Linked DNA regions of Homo sapiens: region 2 is linked to region 1. The links are contacts of gene promoters, found by promoter capture Hi-C in blood cells and fetal thymus (Javierre and others, 2016). All regions are on one chromosome and are shown on one strand. Each heading gives the region's core, a stretch centred on a gene start or on the middle of the fragment in contact. The rest is flanking DNA. Distances are from core to core; before and after follow the strand shown.

Evidence for each region. The method cuts DNA at HindIII sites, captures the fragments that hold promoters and counts their contacts. A CHiCAGO score of 5 or more calls a contact.
Region 2: a fragment that was not itself captured here is called in contact with the fragment with the promoter of LRRK1 in region 1 in 1 of 17 cell types (naive B cells); the score reaches 6.7 in naive B cells.

The regions. Positions count from the first base shown.
Region 1 is chr15:100,916,664-100,920,814 of GRCh38, reverse strand. It overlaps LRRK1 (leucine rich repeat kinase 1), which reads right to left and starts at 1,458. Exons shown (of 34, transcript NM_024652.6): 1 at 1,364-1,458. ALDH1A3-AS1 (ALDH1A3 antisense RNA 1) reads left to right here and starts at 1,532. Exons shown (of 2, transcript NR_135827.1): 1 at 1,532-2,011. RefSeq lists enhancers at 416-1,007, 2,182-2,301, 2,352-2,441, 2,194-2,786 and silencers at 1,222-1,811, 2,572-2,791. The HindIII fragment of the contact is 4,524 bases long and covers 1-3,730 here.
Region 2 is chr15:99,916,849-99,920,860 of GRCh38, reverse strand. No RefSeq gene overlaps it. Among named protein-coding and RNA genes, the nearest start is that of LYSMD4, 190 kb to the right of the region's middle. RefSeq lists an enhancer at 3,401-4,012. The HindIII fragment of the contact is 1,679 bases long and covers 668-2,346 here.

The DNA.
Region 1 (4,151 bases), core at 209-2,708:
TGAAGGACTCCATAAAGAGGACTGATATGGTCTGATTTACCCATTTAAACACACAGACACACACAGACGCACGCTGCTATATAGAGAATGGAGGAAGGGGGAACTGAAATCCTACAGTAAAGAGATGCTGGTACCCTGGACAAGGGGCAGGGTGGGGGGTGGGGGCATAAGAAAAAGGGGACAGATCAGGACACATTTTAGACATAGATTCAACAGACTGAATGTTTTTTATCTGAGGATCCGAGTTGACTGCGAGGTCACTGCCAGAGACATCGACTTTTGGGAGAGGGAAAGGTTTGGCTGACCGCAAAACCTCCTTTAGGAACAAATTAGGTGTGAGGTTAGTTTGTTATATTATTTTCTCTTTCAGGACATAGGCAAAGATGAAGAGAATCAAATCATAAAAGGCGTTTAATGTTAACATTTTCCAAAATTGTGCATGTTCTAGCTATCCCTTTAATGTCTGGGCATTTTGATACCCTGTGAGTGGCTGGCAAACTCTATCATTAGTGTACACGGTGAGAGGTTTGCTGAAAGCTATATGCCCCCGTTTCTCTACCTGTTGCAGGGGAAGTGTTCGTGGGAGAAAAACTTCGCGGCCTCATACTGTGAAGGGGTAGGTTGAGATGGCCACGGGGGTTCTCAGATTCTCCACCAGCGTCTCCTCGCTGACCCCGGCCTTCCTAGGCTTCCTTCCCGCGTCCCTGCCTGCCAGGAAGGTCCCCTGTAGCTTGCAGAGACCATGGTAGACAGAGCAGTTGTATCTGCGCCAGCCAGAGACCACCTGGGCAAGAAGCGTGACCCAGACATCGAGGAGGGTGAAGCCTCGCTGGGCCGCCCCGCAACCCCAGGAAGCCCCGGACCAGCGAGAGGCTCCCGGGCGGTCTCTTGCCGACACCCCGGCACGGGCTCACCCGCGCGCTCACACTCCGCCCGCTCCCCGCTAAGGGACTGGGTTCGCTCCAAAGGCAGAGGAAACCTATGGGCTCCCCGGCTCGTGTCTCCCGACTCGTGTCTCTTGCCTCCGCTTCCCAGCTTTCCCGACCCTGCCCGGACGGGGTTTCGGGGTTCCCTGCTCGGGCCCCGCGCGCTCCCCTCCCACAGGCTGGCTGGGCTCCGGGCGCGGCGGGAGGCAGCGGGGACGTGAGACCGGGGTCGCCCCACACGCCCTCCGCGCCCCTCGGGCCGCGGCCCCTGCGCAACGGCCCCCCGTGCCCGACCACGCGGCCGCCCGGAGCGCAGGGGCCCGCGGGCAGGCAGAGGCCGAGGCTCCCCGCGGGCGCCGGGCGCGGGCTCTGGGTTCCCCGGGCGGGGCCGGGAGGCAGCCAGGCCGCCGGGGGGCGCCGGCAGGAGCGGCGCTTACCTGAGGCGGCGGCGGGGCCGGGTGCGGGCGCTCCGGGACGCGGGGCCGGGCGGACACACTGGCGGGGCCGGGGCCTGGCCGTCCCACCGCCGTCTGCCCCCCGCGCCGGGGCCGGGCCCAGACGCACTTCCTCAATCCTGAGGCGGGCGGGCGGGGAGGGCGGCGCGAAGAGCGCGCAGAGCAAGGCCGCCGCCAGCTCTCCCAGGAACCGTCGCGAGGCGTCCCCTCGGCGGCCGCCTCAGTTTCCCTGGCCGTAAAACGCGGGCGATGGCGCTCGATGCCCCGGGAGACGCCGGGGTCCGCGGGCCCTTCCGGCACCGGGTCCTCCTTCAGGTTCGGGCACCCGGCTGCCTCCACGCGGGGCGAGCGCGGCGATGGGATCGGTCCGTGCTGCGCTCAGCCCCGCTTTCGCTATCCCTCTGCTCCAGGGGCAGCAAAATCAGCAGATGAGCCCCCAGCGCGCCTGCGGCCCACACACTGCGGCCGTAACAGTTAAACAGACGGGGAACATTCATGTGCGTAGAGCTCTTCACGGGGCGATACAGAAATGTGTCGTTCTAAAGCGTTAACGACCTGCAATTTGCATATCCTCCAACACATGGATTTTACTGATTCAATTATGGATGTGTGCAAAGAATCTGCTGCTCGGTGAGTCATTGTTAATTGTCGGCTTTGGGGGGAATACATAAAACGTGGAATATTGGCAATTTATCGTGTTTCGACCTTTTATAAAGGCGTCACCAGGCTGCTGAGGCTAATACAGAAACGCAGACCATAAAAAAGATCTGCGTCCACGCTGCAGGCGGGCCTCACGCTGAGCTCCCCGTGTCGACCCGGGGACAAAGCCTGCTCAGGAAGAGCAGAGGGTTCCACGCCCTGCAGGACCAGCGCCCTGGGCCCCTCTCCTGGAAAGTTATGACTCGCACGTTCCCAGGATTTAGCGCACATCTCCCCCACCCTCACTGCCATTTCACAGAACCGGGGCAGCCGCAGGGCTCCTGCAGGACCTCCCGGACGCCGCGGGGCCGTGTTCCCTTGAGCGGCTTCTTGGGTCCCTGGTTGGAGAGGGGACCACCGAGCAGCTTCGCTCTGCTCCTGGGAGGCTACTTCTGCCACTGGACGACTTTCCAAAAGGGTGAGCGCAGTTCTGCAATCCTGTTCTCACCCCTGAGGGCCTCACACCAGTTTGCAGGAGCCAGCAGTGTGATTGCCACCGACAAGTTCCCAACAATTTGCAGGGCGTGGTGTCCTCAGTGCTGAGAGAGCCCCGCGACGGCGGTGCAGCTCCTCCAGGGCGCGCAGCCCCGCCACCTGGCGCCACCGCGAGGGAGCGCAGGCCCAGGGCCCGGGCAGACGCTGGAGGGGACGCGGCAGGTGAAGATGGGGCACCTCCACTTCCCTTCTAAAGGAGCCTGGGAATAGGCTAGGAAATGTCCCCACTGTAGAAGACAGCAGGAACATCTGACACGCGGATAACCTGTGCTGAGCTCGTTATATTCCCAGCATTTAATTCTAGCCATTAGGCATGCGTTAGCCACAACTTCGCATAGGAAGGTTATTGCAGGTAAGTTAAGACTCCTTTCCACTTCTTCCTAAGGGTCGCTGACCCATGGTTCTCTAGCTTTTGCTGGTAATCCCACCCAGATTCTCAGCACCCTAGGTTGGAATGACCCCTCCTGAGGTGGGTGGGGTAGCTGGGAGGCACCTCCCTGAACTGACTTTTCTGCCTTTTTGAAGGTGCAGTGGCTGAGCGCTCCTTCAGTGTTTTCCGGTTGTCTTTCTTCAGCCCAGTACGCAGTTTCCTCAGACAGTCTTCCTTGAGCAACTTCCTAAACGCCCTTCATTATCCCCCTTCAAGCTCATGCCTAGGAGCAAGGAGCAAAGCCATTAGAAAGGCTTCATCCACCAGCAGGAGAAGCTAGGACATCCCAAAGGGTCCACTTCTAGAGAGGTGCCAACCCCCACACGCACACCAGGCACACAAATGCATGTGTGCACACGCATACCACACCCTCCAATTGTCCCCAGAATGGCTCCCTTCAGGGAGTCATGTTCCGGGACACCAAATGAGGGAAAATATCCTTCTCCTACAGTTTCCTGCTCACATTTGGATTGAGAAATGGGATGTCTCTAAATAATGTGTCTAAATTCTCTTAACATAAGTGCATATGTTACGAGAGATCTGATCCCAGCCTCCCTTTTTTGTTAAAGTGGTGGTGCTTTGCCACCCATGTCAAAATGATCTGGGCTTTCCACATCAAATGCAAGGGATGAGCTTGGAGGACATACCCCAGTACCAGCAATGATCTTGAGCCAATGGCAGCGTCAGCTCACAACGGGGTGATTGAGGCTTCTTGGTTAGAAGCTTTAGAAACTTGAGGTCAGTAAAACCCAAATTGATCCTTTCTCTAGATCCTCTAGATTTCTCTAGAGGAAAAGGTGACAAAAACAGACACTTGTGCTCACCGTCAGGGGCACAATGCTGTCCGTCAATCCTCATGCAGTCCTCCCCACCATTTCGCACACTGACACCATCACTACTTTATGATAAAAGGAGACTCAGGCAGCTTAGATAACAGCTGAAACTCAGCCAGCTATGACATGGAACCTCTGAGGCCCAGCTCCTTGCCTGGTCAACCCCCAAGCCCACAGAAATGGGTTTCACACTCAGGCAAAGCACTGGGCCCGACTGACTGAGCAAATGTAATTTTATGCTTACATTATTGATCCTGCTTTAATATCAGCCATTTCGTACAGGTCTCAGAAAGAGAAAGGCCTGCCATCGAAT
Region 2 (4,012 bases), core at 258-2,757, 1.0 Mb after region 1:
TTTTTTTAATTTTGATGAAGTTCAGCTTATCTGTTTTTTCTTTGATTGCTTGTGCTTTTGGTGTCATATCCACAAAGCTGTTGCCTAATCCAAGATTACAAATTTTCAAACCTATGTTTTCTTCTGATTTTTATAATTTTAACTTTTATATTGAGATCTTTGAGTTAATTTTTAGTATGTGGTATGTGTTAGAGATGAACATTTATAATTTGTAAAAAAAAGACTATTCTTTCATCTGTTTAATGGTCTTAGAATTCTTGTAAAAAATCCATTGACACCTTCAATGTGAGGACTTTTTTTGACTGTCAGTTCTAGTCCACTGATATATATGGTTATTCTCGTGCCAATTTTGATTACTGTTGCTTTGTAGTAAGTTTTGAATTAGAGAACTGTGCATCCTCCAACCTTGTTTCCAGGATTGTTTGGGCTATTCTGGGCTCCTTTAATCCCATATGAATTATAAGATCAACTTGTCTATATTTGAAAAATATGCAGATGGAATTGTCTCTTTCGTTCTTGATTTTAGTAATTTGAATCTTTCTTTTCCTTTGGCAGTCTAGTTAAAGGTTTGTCAAATTTTTTTTATCATTTCAAAGAACCAACTTTGGTTTCATTAATTTTCTCTATCATTCTTCTGTTCTCTATATTTTTCACCCTGCTCTAAGCTTTATTATTTCCAGGCAGTTTGTGATAAGGCAGAAAGGGTAAAGAATAATTCTGGGCTAGGGGAATGATATGAGCTAAGCCATAGATATGTGAAAGGGCATGACAATTACAGCAAATGATAAGCAGCTCTGTGTAATAGCCCCCAGAGCTGGGGGTGGGGGCAGATACAACTAAACTGTATTTTAGCAAGATCATTCCAGCAATGTGAGAAAATGGGAGAAAGGGAGGCTAGAAAGGAAACAAGAAGTGGTGCTGGACAGCTTGATGTGTTGTTAAGGATGAGGAAGAAGGAATGGATGTGATGGGGATTAAGAGGTCCACTTGGAAGCGTCTGTGGGCCATTGACCATGAGGAGAGGGAGGAGTATAGGACGGTGTGGGGCTGGTGTTGGGGCCATAGGCTATATCAAGGGAGTGTGAGTGGGAAGATAAAGGGTTCTGTTTGGGGAAGGTTGTGTGTCAATGTGTCTTGAGGCATGTGGACAGAAATGTCCAGAAACAGTGGGAGAGACAGGTTGGGAACACAGGCAGAAGTCAAGGATGTGGGGCAGGTTTGAGGGCCATTGGTGAGTGGGCAGAAAGGATGTGACCCACCCCACGGAAAAGGTCAAGGATGAAAGAGAACCTACAACATCTCTGGTAACACCAGGGTTAGAGGCTGAAACACAAGACCAGGAGTCAGCAAACAAGATGAAGGGGCCAGCCAGAAAGTGGCAGTCAGTGCTGTGAAAACACCAGCAGTGCACGGTGGCACCTCAGAAGCCCTTGGGAGGGACCGAAGATGGGACAAGGCCAGCAGGGCTGAGAGTCCCAAAGAGGTCAAGTAAGGTGTGGCTGCCCATGTCCACTGGACTTGGCAGTCAGTGAGCCATCAGCCACTCACCCAATGACAGTGCAGGAGGCAGAAGCTCAAGTGGAGTGGGCCGAGGAGCTGAGGCAGGCAAGGAAGTAGGAGGGCAAGTGTTCCCCACCTTCCCAGGAGTTTGACAGGACCACAAGGAGAGGGCGAAAGTGGCCAATCAGCTGAAGGTCTGAATAGAACATAAAGGCTGATCTCCCATGAGTAAGAGGGAACGCCTCCTGCCTGACTGCCTTCAAGCTGGGACATTTGTCACCCTCTCCAAGCCCCCCAACCTTTGGACTCAAACTTAAGCATTAGCTGTTCCTGGGTCTTGGGTCTGCTGGCTTCAGACTGGAACCGCGTCACCGGCTCTCCTGGGTCTCCAGCTGGCCAACTGCAGATCTTGGGACTTGTCAGCCTCCACAGTCACAGGAGCCAATTATTTATTATATGAATCTCCTATTGGTTCTGTTTCACTGAAAGACCTGACTAATGCAAGGGGCACTGGGGGTGGTAATGGACACCTTTCTTCAGGCTGAAAGAAAGGACTATATGGAGGCCTACGAATTGATTGAGCAGGAAGAACAGGGGGTGAAGGAGCTCAACAGAAGGTTCATTGCTCCAAGTGGTGGGGCCTTTTACTGATCCAGTTACAGGGCCTGCATCCTCATCCATTCCATCCTCACCACGGGTCAGCAGAGCCATATGGTTGAGGAGTCTCTCCCCTGCGGTTTATACACAATATGGTTTGGTTTCCTCCAGCATCTACCTCTTAACTGCAGAACCCCCCTTTCCCACTGGGCAGCAGCTCCCTAAGTCCTTATTAGGGAGCCATAAGCTTTCGACTTCTTTTGGTTACTGCTTGTAGGAGTTAGGATTCCATCCCGTTCACTGGTTAAATCTTCACTCTCAAGCTCCATTTGAAACTCATCTCCCCTTCCCATGCCAGCCAGAGCCACAGTCTTGGAGCTGGAGAGGAGGCTGAGCTTTGATCCTGCGCTGGCCTTGCCCTTTCTTGCGGGCTTCCCCTTCTGGTGCCCAGGGTGGGGGTAGGGGAGACGTCTGCAGGGGGCTGCTTCTAAGCAATGCTGGTGACCTCTACCGCTGCCGTCTCCCATAGGTGGGGTCGGGCTTTCGAGAGGCAGAGTTCAGTGTCACGCCAACCTTTCCATTGCTAAGAACCAGCCCTCCCAAGTTCCCCTTCAGCCTGGTCAGACATTGAGACCCTGTCTCAGCTGTCCAGGTGGGTGCCCATCACTCAACTTGACTTCTGCCTGACAGAGAGGCTCTGTCCCTCTGCCAATCCTATTCCTTCGTGCAGAGCTCTTCTGCAGGCTCCGAGGGCTTTGGAGAACTGGGACGGGGTGTCGGGGGTCCCCCTTTCCTTCCCAGATATGCCATGCCCACATCCCTCATATTCACCATGGAACCCTCCTTCTTTCCTCAGTCACATTGCTGGGGGAGGGAAGTGTCTGCAAAGAGCAATGAATGGGGGTGCAAGTGACGGCAGTGTCACAGCAATGCAAGGAGTGCCCCTGGGAAAGAACCAGAGGGCAGCCAGGGACGCTGGCTCTGTTGGAGGGAGGCATCTGGGCTGGTCTTTCCGAGGCAAAGGGTTTGCATGGGTGGTGGCCCCAGCAGTAAAGCAGTGCCTCTGTAATGGGGCACCCCCAATCTCTGGGTGTTAAAATGCATTTTCTGTTGCAGTGTTCCTGGGCGGCACTCCAGGTTTGGCCTTTCTAACTCCTTGGGGGTGCTGGGGATGCTGGCTCAGGGACTGTCCCTCCCGGGAGGGATCTGCCATTTCAGAGGCTCAAAATGACACACATAAATCTCTCTCACGCTTGCAACTGGACAACCTTTCCTGCACCCTCCCTCCCCCAAGCAAGTGTTCCTGTTTTGTTTTATTCTCTATGGAAACAACATGAACAAAGGGTCTAGTAACCAACACATGGAGAGGACTCTCTACACACCAAGCACCGCAGTGTTCTAGTTAATCCTCCTAACAGCCCTCCGCTGCACAGGCGGGGAAACTGAGGCCTGGAGATGTCCAGTCACTGACTGGAGGATGCACATGGGGAAGTGGCAGAGCTGTCTGCTCCCAGGGAGGAGGGTAGCCCTCAGCCCCTCACACTGCCAGAGGTCACCCAGGGAGGGCTTTTTCCAAACAGCCTTTTGGAAAGGGAGCGTCTGGAAATTTCCTCAGGCTAATTAACTTGAGGCAAGGACCCTGCAGTGAAGAGGCGGCACTTTTAACAGCTCTGAGACAGTTACATGCTAAGTTTCTGGTAAACAGAAATGAATGAGTCCCAAGAGGGCTGGGGTTTGTTTTGGGAAAAGAGAAAGGGGGAAAAGTCAGCCAGGGCAGACCGGAGGAGGCTAACGGCAGCCTGGGAGGCCTTGTCAGTGTCTCCCCCGGGCAGACCACGGGCCACTTCCAACAGCCGCTGCCAGAGCCTGCAGGCCTGCTGGGGTCCTGGGCTGCGTGATGTGCATATATTAATCT